Regions from separate parts of the Homo sapiens genome. Here region 1 is linked to region 2. The links are contacts of gene promoters, found by promoter capture Hi-C in blood cells and fetal thymus (Javierre and others, 2016). All regions are on one chromosome and are shown on one strand. The core of a region is centred on a gene start or on the middle of the fragment in contact, and the rest is flanking DNA. Distances in the headings are between cores, read along the strand shown. Region 1 overlaps GET3 (guided entry of tail-anchored proteins factor 3, ATPase). Region 2 holds the start of HOOK2 (hook microtubule tethering protein 2).

Region 1 (6,123 bases), core at 2,980-5,479, 35 kb after region 2:
AAAACAAGGGGAAAATTGCAAGCTGTGCCCAGGGCCCTCAAAGGGAAGCTGAAACCCACTGCGGGCCATTTACACTGCTACTCCCCACTTGCAACCTGCCACTTGCAACCCCAGATACTCCCATGACTGGGCCATGACCTCTTCCGGATCATCATCCCTCCACTGAGAGACTCCCTGACCACCCTAAGTAACAGCACAGATCCACCGACACCCCTGCCCTGCCTTCCTTTCTCCTTAAGGTTTAGCCCTTAGGAGCTGGGCAGGATAGCTCACGCCTGTAGTCCCAGGTACTCAGGAGAATGAGATGGGAGGATCGCTTGAGCCCAGGAGTTGGACACCAGCCTGGGCAATATAGCAAGACCTATCTGAAAAAAAAATTAGCCCTTCCTCACATCCCTCATGATTCCCTTATCATGTTTATCATCTGTCTCCATAGCAGGAATGTCTGCCCCTCAGGGGCAGGGGTTTTACCATCTAGTTCACTGCTGTGTCCTTAGCGCTTAGCATGAACAGTGCCTGGCACAGAGGTCGTCAGCACATATGGGGAATCCAGCCAGGCGCGGTACCTCATGCCTGTAATTCCAGCCCTTTGGGAAGCGGAGGCGGGCAGATCACCTGAGGTCGGGAGCTTGAGGCCAGCCTGGCCAACATGGTGAAACCCCGTCTCTACTAAAAATACAAAAATTAGCCATGCATAGTGGCGGGTGCCTATAATCCCAGCTACTCTGGAGGTTGAGGCAGGGGAATCGCTTGAACCCGGGAGGCAGAGGTTACAGTGAGCCGAGATCACGCCATTACACTCCAGCCTGGGTGACAGAGGGAGACTCTGTCTCAAAAAACAAACAACAAAACAAAACACAAACATGTATGTAGAATCTATGAAGGGATGGCCATGGCTGGGGTCCCTGGCCAGTCTCAGACTCAATGCCTCCCTCTTTTTTTTTTTTTTTTCCCGAGATGGAGTTTTGATCTTGTTGCCTAGGCTGGAGTGCAGTGGCGCGATCTCAGCTCATCACAACCTCCACCTTCTGGGTTCAAGCAATTCTCCTGCCTCAGCCTCCCGAGTAGCTGAGACTATAGGCATGCCCCACCATGCCTGGCTAATTTTTTTTTTTTTTTTTTTTTTTGAGATGGAGTCTTGGCCGGGCGTGGTGGCTCACGCCTGTAATCCCAGCACTTTGGGAGGCCGAGGCAGGCAGATCACCTGAGGTTAGGAGATCGAGACCATCCTGGCTAACACGGTGAAACCCCGTCTCTACTAAAAATACAAAAAATTAGCCGGGCGAGGTGGCGGGTGCCTGTAGTCCCAGCTACTTGGGAGGCTGAGGCAGGAGAATGGCATGAACCCCAGGGGGCGGAGCCTGCAGTGAGCTGAGATCACGCCACTGCACTCCAGCCTGGGCGACAGAGCGAGACTCCATCTCAAAAAAAAAAAAAAAAAAAAAAAAGAGATGGAGTCTCGCTCTGTCACCCAGGCTGGAGTGCAGTGAGTAGCTGGGACTACAGGCGCCCGCCACCACACCTGGCTAATTTTTTGTATTTTTAGTAGAGACGGGGTTTCACTGTGTTAGCCAGGATGGTGGCGATCTCCTGACCTCGTGATCCACCCACCTCGGCCTCCCAAAGTGCTGGGATTACAGGCACGAGCCATCACGCCTGGCCATGCCTGGCTAATTTTTGTAATTTTTTTTTTTTCTGAGATGGAGTTTCACTCTTGTTGTCTAGGCTGGACAATGGCGTGATCTTGGCTCACTGCAACCTCCGCCTCCAGGGTTCAAGTGATTCTCCTGCCTCAGCTTCCTGAGTAGCTGGGATTACAGGCATGCGCCACCACCCCAGCTAATTTTGTATTTTTAGTAGAGACGGGGCTTCTCTATGTTGGTCAGGCTGGTTTTCAACTCCCAACCTCAGGTGATCCACCCACCTCAGCCTCCCAAAATGCTGGGATTACAGGTATGAGCCACCATGCCCGGCCAATGCCTCCCTCTTTATCTTCCTCCTCTGTCACCTCTTCTTGGTAACTTCATGGGTCCCATGGGGAAGTACCCAACTCGCTGGCCTTAGGGGTCATTCCCTGTTGGGGAGCTTGCCCACTCATCACTGCACCCTCTTCTTATGCTTCATATATTTTAAGCTTCTTTGGACTACTTCATCCCCTCACCTGGCCCCTGTAAACTGTCAGTGTTCCTCTTGGCTGGCACCCTTATCCAGCCCAGCCTCCACAGGTTCCCTCTGCAAACACTCCCTTTCCCCTTGCTGTTGGCAAAATCCCCCACTCTGGTTACTTCCAGCTTTTTTTTTCTTTCTTTTAGAGATAGCGTCTTGGCCGGGCGCGGTAGCTCACACTTGTAATCCCAGTGTATTAGGAAGCCAAGCCAGGCAGATCATTTGAGGTCAGGAGATTGAAAACAGCCTGGCCAACATGTTGAAACCCCGTCTCTACTAAAAAAAAATACAGGCCAGGCGCGGTGGCTCACGCCTGTAATCCCAGCACTTTGGGAGGCCAAGGCGGGTGGATCACGAGGTCAGGAGATCGAGACCATCCTGGTTAACATGGTGAAACCCCGTCTCTACTAAAAATACTAAAAATTAGCCGGGCATGGTGGCATGCACCTGGAGTCCCAGCTACTCGGGAGGCTGAGGCAGGAGAATCACTTGAAATCGGGAGGAAGAGGTTGCAGTGAACCGAGATTGCGCCACTGCACTCCATCCTGGGCGACAGAATAAGACTCCGTCTCAAAACAAACAAAAAAAACCCCCCCAAAACAAAAATTAGCCGGATGTGGTGGCGGGCGCCTGTAATCACAGCTACTTGGGAGGCTGAGGCAGGAGAATCGCTTAAACTCAGGAGGTAGAGGTTGCAGTGAGCTGAGATCACACCACTGCACTCCAGCCTGGGTGACAGAGTGAAACTCAGTCTCAAAAAAAAAAAAAAAAAAGATACCATCTCATACATAGCTCATTGCAGCCTCAAACTCTTAGGCTCAAATGATCCTCCTGCCTCAACCTACCAACTTACTGGGACTATAGGCACACACCACCATGCCCAGCTAATTTTGTTTGTTTTTTGTAGAGAAAGGGTCTCCCTTTGTTGCCCAGGCTGGTCTTGAACTCCTGACCTCACGTGATCCTCTTGTCTCAGTCTCTGCAAGCACTGAAATGATAGGTATGGCTTTCTAGCTCTTTAGTATCACTGCACTTGAGGGCCGAACACTCCTGAAGAGTATTCCCATCTTGCTCCTCACCCTTTTGGAGACGGAGTCTCGCTCTGTCATCCAGGTTGGAGTACAGTGGCACAATCTCGACTCACTGTGACCTCCGCCTCCCAGGTTCAAGCAATTCTTTGCCTCAGCCTCCCGAGTATCTGGGATTACAGGCGCCCACCACCAGGCCCAACTAATTTTTTTTTTTTGAGATGGAGTGTCGCTCTGTATCCCAGGCTGGAGTGCAGTGGCATGATCTCGGCTCACTGCAACCTCCGTCTCCCAGGTTCAAGCAATTCTCCTGCCTCAGCCTCCCGTGTAACTGGGACTACAGGTGCCGGCCACCACGCAAGGCTAATTTTTGTATTTTTAGTAGAGACGGGGTTTCACCATATTGGTCAGGCTGGTCTCGAACTCCCGACCTCAGGTGATCTGCCCGCCTCAGCCTCCCAAAGTGCTGGGATTACAGGCGTGAGCCACCGTGCCTGGCTTATTTTTGTATTTTTTTTTTTGAGATGGAGTCTTGCTCTGTCACCCACGCTGGAGTGCAGTGGCGCGATCTAGGCTCACTGTAAGCTCCACCTCCCGCGTTCACGCCATTCTCCTGCCTCAGCCTCCCGAATAACTGGGATTAAAGGCACCCGCCATCACGCCCGGCTAACTTTTTGTATTTTTAGTAGAGATGGGGTTTCACCCTGTTAGCCAGGCTGGTCTCAATCTCCTGACTTTGTGATCCGCCCACCTCGGCCTCCCAGAGTGCTGGGATTACAGGCGTGAGCCACCATGCCCAGCTAATTTTTGTATTTTTAGTAGAGATGGAGTTCCACCATCTTGGCTAGGCTGGTCTTTAACTCCTGACCTTCTGATCCACCTGCCTCAGCCTCCCGAAGTGCTGGGATTACAGGCATGAGCCACCACGCCCGCCCTTGCTCCCCTCTTCTGAACACAAATCTCCAATGGGCACTTGATGATCCAGACAATTCTGGTTCCCCCTGCTACCTTAATAAGTGTTTATGTGGTATTTTCTCCCTCCTCAAACTTCTATCCCATTCACTGCTGAGACCCTTGCCTGTTCCTTGGTGAGAAAGAGAAGCCATTGGCTGCCAACACCCTCATCTCTGCCCGGGAAGTGCCCCAATTCCTCCTGTTTCCCTCCCAGTCCCTGACCCTGGCAGCGCCCAAGTTCTGGGTCTGTATGCTGGATGGAGCTCATCCCACCTGAGGACTGTCCTCTGCCAGCATCCTCACTCTGCAGCATCTCTTTATTTTATTTTATTTTTATTTATTATTTTTTGTTGAGTCTCGCTCCGTTGTTCAGGCTGTAAAGCAGTGGCGCGATCTCGGCTCACTGCAAGGTCCACTTCCCGCGTTCACGCCATTCTCCTGCCTCAGCCTCCGGAGTAGCTGGGACTACAGGTGCCCGCCACCATACCTGGCTAATTTTTTTGTATTTTTAGTAGAGATGAGGTTTCACCGTGTTAGCCAAGATGGTCTCAGTCTCTTGACCTTGTGATCTGCCCGCCTCAGCCTCCCAAAGTGCTGAGATTACAGATGTGAGCCACCGTGCCCGGCCTTTATTATTTTTTTGAGACAGAGTGTTGCTCTGTCGCCCAGGCTGGAGTGCAGTGGCGCGATCTCAGCTCACTGCAAGCTCCGCCTCCGGGGTTCACGCCACTCTCCTGCCTCAGCCTCCTGAGCAGCTGGGACTAAAGGCGCCTGCCACCATGCCCAGCTATTTTTTGTATTTTTAGTAGAGATGGGCTTTCACCGTGTTAGCCAGGAGGGTCTTGATCTCCTGACCTTGTGATCCACCCGCCTCGGTCTCCCACAGTGCTGGGATGACAGGAGTGAGCCACTGCGCCCAGCCAATTTTTTTTTTTTTTGAGACGTGAGAAAACCTCGTCTCTACTAAAAATACAAAAATTAGCCGGGCATGGTGGTAGGCACCTGTAATCCCAGCAACTCCGGAGGCTGAGGCAGGAGAATCTCTGCTTCCTGGGTTCTAGCGATTCTCCTACCTTAGCCTTCTGAGTAGCTGGTATTACAGGCACCTGCCACCATGCCCAGCTAATTGGTTTATATTTTTAGTAGTGATGGGGTTTCACCATGTTGGCCAGGCTGGTCTCAAACTCTTGACCTCAAGTGATCCGCCCACCTTGGCTTCTCAAAGTGCTAGGATTACAGGAATGAGCCACCATGCCCAGCCCTCACACAGCTTTAAATGCCACCCTTGAGACAGTGACTTCCAAATCAATGCCAACCTCCTCTGGGCTCCAGACTCACATAAACAAGCTACTGTCATGATGTTTACACTTGGATTTCCAGTGGGCAACTCAGATTCACTGTGGACAAAATGAAATTCTTTATTTGTTCATTCTAAACCTACTCCTTTCCTAGTTTTCCCCATCCCAGCTGCTCAGAGAGACAAGAAAGACATGTAATCAATTCATTTCTTTTTCTCACCCAAGTAATCTTACTGGTTTACTTCCAAAATACATCCCTGGTGCGATGTGGTGGCTCATGCCTGTAATCCCAGCACTGTGGGAGGCCGAGGCAGTCAGATCACTTGAGGTCAGGAGTTTGAGACCAGCCTGGCCAATATGGTGAAAACCTGTCTCCTAAAAAAAACAAAATTAACAGGCAGTGGTGGCGCAAGCCTGTAGTGCCAGCTACTCGGGAGGCTGAGGCAGGAGCATTGCTTGAACCTGGGAGGCGGAGGTTGCAGTCAGCCTAGATCGGGTTACTGCACTCCAGCCTGGGAGACAGAGGAGTCTTGAGTGTCTAAAAAAAAAAAAAACCTCAAGTCTGACTACTTCTCCCCCAACATTCTGCCTCCACCAGAGTCCAGGATGTTGTCATCTCTCAACTGGTTACACCCCCAATCTCCTTGTTAGTTTCCCTGCTTCTACCCTGACTGACA
Region 2 (6,043 bases), core at 1-2,500:
ATCACGGCTCACTGCAGTCTCGACCTCCTGGGCTCAAGCTATCCTCCCACCTCAGCCTCTGTAGAGCTAGGAGCTAGGACCACAGAAACACGCCAACATGTCTGGCTAATTTTTTTTTTTTTTTTTTTGAGGAGTCTTGCACTGTTGCCCCCTGGAGTGCAGTGGTACGATCTCGGCTGACTGCAACCTCCGCCTCCAGGGTTCAAGCGATTCTCCTGCCTCAGCCTCCCGAGTAGCTGAAATCAGGCGTGCGCCACCACGCCCAGCTAATTTTTAGTATTTTTAGTAGAGACGGGGTTTCACCATGTTGGCCAGGCTGGTCTCGAACACCTGACCTCGTGATCCGCCCGCCTCGGCCTCCCAAAGTGCTGGGATTACAGGCGTGAGCCACCGCTACCTGGGTAATTTTTAAATTTTTTGAAGAGAGGCTGGTCTCCAACTTCTATCCAAATTAATTCTCCCTCCTAGGCCTCCCAAAATACTGGGATTACAGTCGAGAGCCACCGCGTCCGGCGGGAAAACCCCTTTAGCATCCCCTCTCCCAGTCCATAGAAAGTGCCAGGGCTCGCCCCTCCCCGCACAACGGCTCCGATTATAAAGTGGTTAGACACAAGAATTTACTTAAGGCCGGGCGCGGTGGCTCACGCCTGTAATCCCAGCACTTTGGGAGGCCGAGGCGGGCGGATCACGAGGTCAGGAGATCGAGACCATCCTGGCTAACACGGTGAAACCCCGTCTCTACTAAAAATACAAAAAATTAGCCGGGCGAGGTGGCGGGCGCCTGTAGTCCCAGCTACTCGGGAGGCTGAGGCAGGAGAATGGCGTGAACCCCAGGGGGCGGAGCCTGCAGTGAGCCGAGATTGCGCCACTGCACTCCAGCCTGGGCGACAGCGAGACTCCGTCTCAAAAAAAAAAAAAAAAAAAAAAAGAATTTACTTAAGTTGCAGGGAAAAGACGTGAATGCGCTTGTGTAACAGGGTGGAGCACCTCCGTCTCAAAAGGATCTTGAGGACCTCCCACCCCAAAAAGGGCCAGGGCGAGGATGGGAGGTGGGACCACCCTCGGATGCACAAGGCTGGGCCAGGCTGACCCCTAGCGGCAGGGCGGGCGCCCGAACGGTGCCCGGATCCAAGATGGCGGGGCTGGAGGCAAGAGCGGGCGTAGGGAGGAGATTACGTTCCGAGGCGGAGCCTGGGCTTGGGGGCGGGGCGGGGCCTGCGCCTAGGGGGGCGGGGCGGGGCGGCGCTCTAGGCCGAGCGGGAGGTCGGGGCTGCGGGCGCTCGCTGGTGGCGGACCCGGAGGCTGCTGCGGCGCCGGGGCTCCGTGGCCTGGATTGAATCCGATCGGGAGCCATGAGCGTGGACAAAGCTGAGCTATGCGGGTCTCTGCTCACCTGGGTAGGTCGTGGGGCGGGGCTAGGGGAAGGTGAGCGCCCGCTCCTCTTGCCCGGGATCCCTGGCCCTGGTTCGGTCAGTCTCTTGGTGCTGGGGCTGGGAGGTGCGGGGTCGTCGACTTGCTGGACCGTTGGACTCTGGCCCGAGCACCCGCCCCCGTCACGTGGCAAGTCTGCGTGGAAAGGACAGGTGAGGCCCCGCCCCTCTGTGGTTGGTTCACGTGGGGCGAGGACACAGGTGAATTGGCCTGGTCACGTGGTGCCTGTGGGGCCCAGGTGACTCGCGATACCACCCTGGCCTGGACGCGCAGGGTTTGTTGGGCAGAGGTGAGGTGAGGCCACGCCCCCTCCGGTCTCAGGTGAGCAGAAGCCAGTCCCTCGCAGAGCTGCTGTGGCGGAGCAGCGCCCGCCCCACCATGTGAGGTTCGCTGACTGGAAAAGTCTGCAAAAGGGGAGCGGTTCGGCGCTCCCAGGCCCTAACTCTTTCCTTGTCCTTTCCTTTACCCCTCAGTTACAGACGTTCCACGTTCCGTCTCCCTGTGCCAGCCCTCAGGACCTGAGCAGCGGCCTTGCCGTAGCCTATGTGCTGAACCAGATGTGAGTGGAGCTGAAGGGGAGGATCCCAAAAGTGTCCCCCAGTCTGCTCATCCCACCTTCTCGCCCCCAGAGACCCCTCCTGGTTCAACGAGGCATGGCTCCAGGGCATCTCGGAAGATCCAGGTCCCAACTGGAAGCTGAAGGTGACAAGTGGACTCCTGATTAGAGGACAGACTGGTGAAGAGATGACCAGGGACGGGCCAGCTAGGCACATGTCCTGGGTGATGGGCAGGAAGAGGGACAGATGTCTGGTGATCAACCATTTGTTCATCCATTCATCTATGGAGTACTCACCCTGTGCCAGGCCTGGGCATTCAGCAAGGAATAACACAGACAAAAACCTGCCCCACACAGCCATCATTCTAGTGACAAGCAACACATACACAACCATAAAAATTAACTTCCAGGCTGGGCGCAGTGGCTCATGCCTGTAATCCCAACACTTTGAGAGGCTAAAGTGGGTGGATCACCTGGGGCCAGGAGTTCAAGACCAGCCTGGCCAACAAGTTGAAACCCCATCTCTACTAAAAATACAAAAATTAGCTGGGTGGGGTGGTGTGCACCTGTAATCCCAGTTACTTGGGAGGCTGAGACATGAGAATCACTTGAACCTGGGAGGTGGAGGATGCAGTGAGCTGAGATTGAGCCATTGCACTCCAGCCTGGGCAACAGAGCGAGACTCTTGTCTCAAGAAGAAGAAAAAAAGAAAAAGAAAAAGAAAAAGAAAAAACTTTTGATGCCAGTAGTTCTGTGAAGACAACAAAAAAGCAGGGCTTTGAGAGAGAGCAATGAGGGCATAGGTGGCTGATTACATCAGATGGGTTAATCTCCAAGTGAAATTTGGGGGAACGGTGTTCCAGGCATAGGGAATAGCAGATGTAAAGGCCGTGATTTGGGAATAAACTTGGTGTGATGGAGGAATGGCAGAGAGGGCAGAACAGAGCAAGAGGGCAAGATTTGTAGGAGATGAGGTCATCAGGGGCCTGGCAGGCCATGGTGGGGGTGTGGATTCTATTTTTAAGTGCTGTGGAAAGTCAAGGCAGGGTTTTAGCAGAGCAAAGATGCAACCTGGCTTGGGCTTTATAAAGCTCCCCCTGGCTGCATGGAGAGAAATAAAATGTAGGCAGCAAAAGTGGAAGAGGAGAGGCAGCTGGTGCACTAATCCAGGTGAGAGGTAAAGATGGATGGGTAGGGCTGAAGGATGGTGGGGCAGGTGGTGAGAAGTGACTTGGTTCTGGAGACATATGAAGGAAGATGGTCAGGCAGGCCGGGCACAGTGGCTCATGCCTGTAATCCCAGCAATTTTAGAGGCTGAGGTGGGAGGATTGCTTGAGCTCAGGAGCTTGAGACCAGCCTGGGCTACATAGCAAAACCTCCTCTCTACAAATAAAAAAAAGTAGTCGATTGTGGTGGCATATGCCTGTAGTCCCAGCTACTGGGAGGCAGAGATAGGAGGATTGCTTGACCCCAGGAGGTCGAGGCTGCAGTGAGCCAAGATTGCACCACTGCACTCCAGCCTGGGTGACAGAGCCAGACCCTGTCTTAAAAAGCTAAAGCAAAAAAAAAAAAAAAAAAAAAAAGAAACAAAGATGGTCAGGCAGACAAAAGGGGCAGACAGCCAGACAGGTCACCCCTAGAGGAAGGCGCACGCAGACAGAATAGGATGAGATGAGCAGGGAAGGAGAAGTGAGGTGGAGAGAGGATGGGACCTACAGATTCAGAGTGGGAGGCCTCTGAACTTGTCCACAGTTCCTTGTTCCTCCCTAGGTCAGCAATCTGAAGATGGTCTTACGGAGCCTAGTAGAGTACTCCCAGGATGTGAGTAACTGTAAAGGGATTCAGGGGGTTGAGTTGGGAGAAGGGTGGGCCCATGAGCCCCTGACACCCCCTTCTCCCCAGGTCCTGGCGCATCCTGTGTCAGAAGAGCATCTCCCAGATGTGAGCCTCATTGGAGAGTTCTCAGACCCGGCAGAGCTCGGCAAGCTGCTTCAGCTGGTGCTGGGCTGTGCCATCAGTTGCGAGAAAAAGCAGGGTATGGGGAGCTTAGGGGGTCCCCAGGGCTGGCCTGAGGAAATCCTCCTTCCTCCCCACCTCACCCCTGGGTCTCAGCCTCCCCCACCTTGATCCCCAGACCACATCCAGAGAATCATGACGCTGGAAGAATCGGTTCAGCATGTGGTGATGGAAGCCATCCAAGAGGTGGGTGGGGGCACTCAGTGTGCAATTGGAAAATGTCAGGAGAGGGGACATCTCTAGGGCAGAGAGAACTGGGCACAGGTCCTGCCCTGGTAAGGTCTGGACTCTGCCTGGAACTCAGCTGGCCAGACATCTCTGTCTCATGTGTCTGCCAGCTCCTCCCAGCTCTAAGTCGCAATCTAGCAGGCTCAAGGGATCTGGCTTCCCTCTGTGTTGGAGGCAGGAGGGCAGCCTCTGGGCTGGGGTTATTGGGCAGAACTGGCCTTGACGGGAGGATGGAGAGGTTCTCAGGTTGGATAGTAGATACTTTGAAGGCTGGCCTCAGATATCCAGTTCATTACAATGCCCCTTCCCACTCCTCAGCTCATGACCAAAGACACTCCTGACTCCCTGTCACCAGAGACGTATGGCAACTTTGACAGCCAGGTAAGAGATTTGGGGGAAAGGTGTTCCAGGCACAGGGATCAGCAAATCCAAAGGCCGGGAGTTGGGGATAAGTTTGCTGTGATTAACCTTGTGACTTAACCTTGTTAAAGGTCCAGACCCCACTTACAGATGCTCAGGGTAGCCTAAGGGGGAGGGGCTTGTCCTTAAGCCTGTAAGCCACGCCCATCTTCCAGGGTGCTAGCCACTTCCTGTACCAGGTCTCCAGTGTTCTGGAATCGCTCTTCCTTCAGTCTCCAACCCCAGCCCTGTTTTCTTTTCTTTTCTTTTTCTTTTTTTTTTTTTTTTTTGAGATGGAGTCTCACTCTGTCACCCAGGCTGGAGTGCAGTGGCACGATCTCGGCTCACTGCAACCTCCGCCTCCCGGGTTCAAGCGATTCTCCTGCCTCAGCCTCCCGAGTAGCCAGGACTACAGGCACACGCCACCACACCCGGCTAATTTTTGTGTTTTTAGTAGAGAAGGGGTTCGCCACGTTGGGCAGGCTGGTCTGGAACTCCTGATCTCAGGTAACCCACCCGCCTCAGCCTCCCAAAGTGCTGGGATTATAGGCGCGAGCCACTGCACCCGGCGCCAGCCCTCTTTTCAATCCTGAGGGTTTCTTGGCCCCCTCCATTTGGCCTCTAGAGATCTCAGCCTCCCTCCCCCCGTCCTTCTCCTGAATCCCTGAGTTCCTCTTCCCCCTCATCTCTGCAGTCCCGCAGGTACTATTTCCTAAGTGAGGAGGCTGAGGAGGGGGACGAATTACAGCAGCGCTGTCTGGATCTGGAGCGGCAGGTAGGGCCCTAGGTGGGGCAGGGTCACTTGAGTAGCCCCTCTCCAAGCCCAAGCTCATCTTTCTGCCCTGCCCGCAGCTGATGCTCCTGTCAGAGGAGAAGCAGAGCCTGGCGCAAGAGAATGCAGGGCTGCGGGAGCGGATGGGCCGGCCTGAAGGCGAGGGTACCCCAGGTCTCACTGCCAAGAAGCTGCTGCTGCTGCAATCCCAGCTGGAGCAGTTGCAGGAGGAGAACTTCAGGTGTGGTCAGCTGGGGACTGGGCCAGGCAAGCCAGGGGACCGGGGGAGGGCAGCCCCCTCATGTGCTCTTCCCCCAACACCCCCAGGCTGGAGAGTGGCAGGGAGGATGAGCGCCTGCGCTGTGCCGAGCTGGAGAGGGAGGTTGCGGAGCTGCAGCACCGGAACCAGGCGCTGACTAGCCTGGCCCAGGAGGCACAGGCCCTGAAGGATGAGATGGATGAACTACGGTGAGTGGTGGGTTCCTGGGTCCCCATCACGGGGGGCGGGGGGTAAACCTGTTTCCAGAGTTCCCCTCTGATGCCATAGCAGCTCTGTAATTTTCATGTGCCCAGTGAACCCCCAATATGCCCCCTGGACTCCACAGTGCCACCCTGAGCCCTACAGAACGCCCAAGGCCACA

What was found. Contacts are between HindIII fragments. The CHiCAGO score rates a contact against its expected background, and 5 or more counts as called.
Region 1: a contact is called between a fragment that was not itself captured here and the fragment with the promoter of HOOK2 in region 2, in 1 of 17 cell types (erythroblasts). The highest score is 8.9, in erythroblasts.

The regions. Positions count from the first base shown.
Region 1 is chr19:12,739,048-12,745,170 of GRCh38, reverse strand. All of the region lies in intron 2 of GET3 (guided entry of tail-anchored proteins factor 3, ATPase), which reads right to left. Among named protein-coding and RNA genes, the nearest start is that of GET3, 4.6 kb to the right of the region's middle. RefSeq lists an enhancer at 1-107. The HindIII fragment of the contact is 4,185 bases long and covers 2,137-6,123 here.
Region 2 is chr19:12,770,759-12,776,801 of GRCh38, reverse strand. HOOK2 (hook microtubule tethering protein 2) reads left to right here and starts at 1,250. Exons shown (of 23, transcript NM_013312.3): 1 at 1,250-1,397; 2 at 1,905-1,990; 3 at 2,061-2,133; 4 at 3,758-3,808; 5 at 3,890-4,022; 6 at 4,122-4,189; 7 at 4,550-4,612; 8 at 5,325-5,405; 9 at 5,483-5,643; 10 at 5,730-5,870. The coding sequence starts at 1,353. RefSeq lists a silencer at 1,187-1,406, a cis regulatory region at 791-1,432 and enhancers at 969-1,647, 1,648-2,328, 4,859-5,359, 5,360-5,860. The HindIII fragment of the contact is 30,934 bases long and covers 1-6,043 here.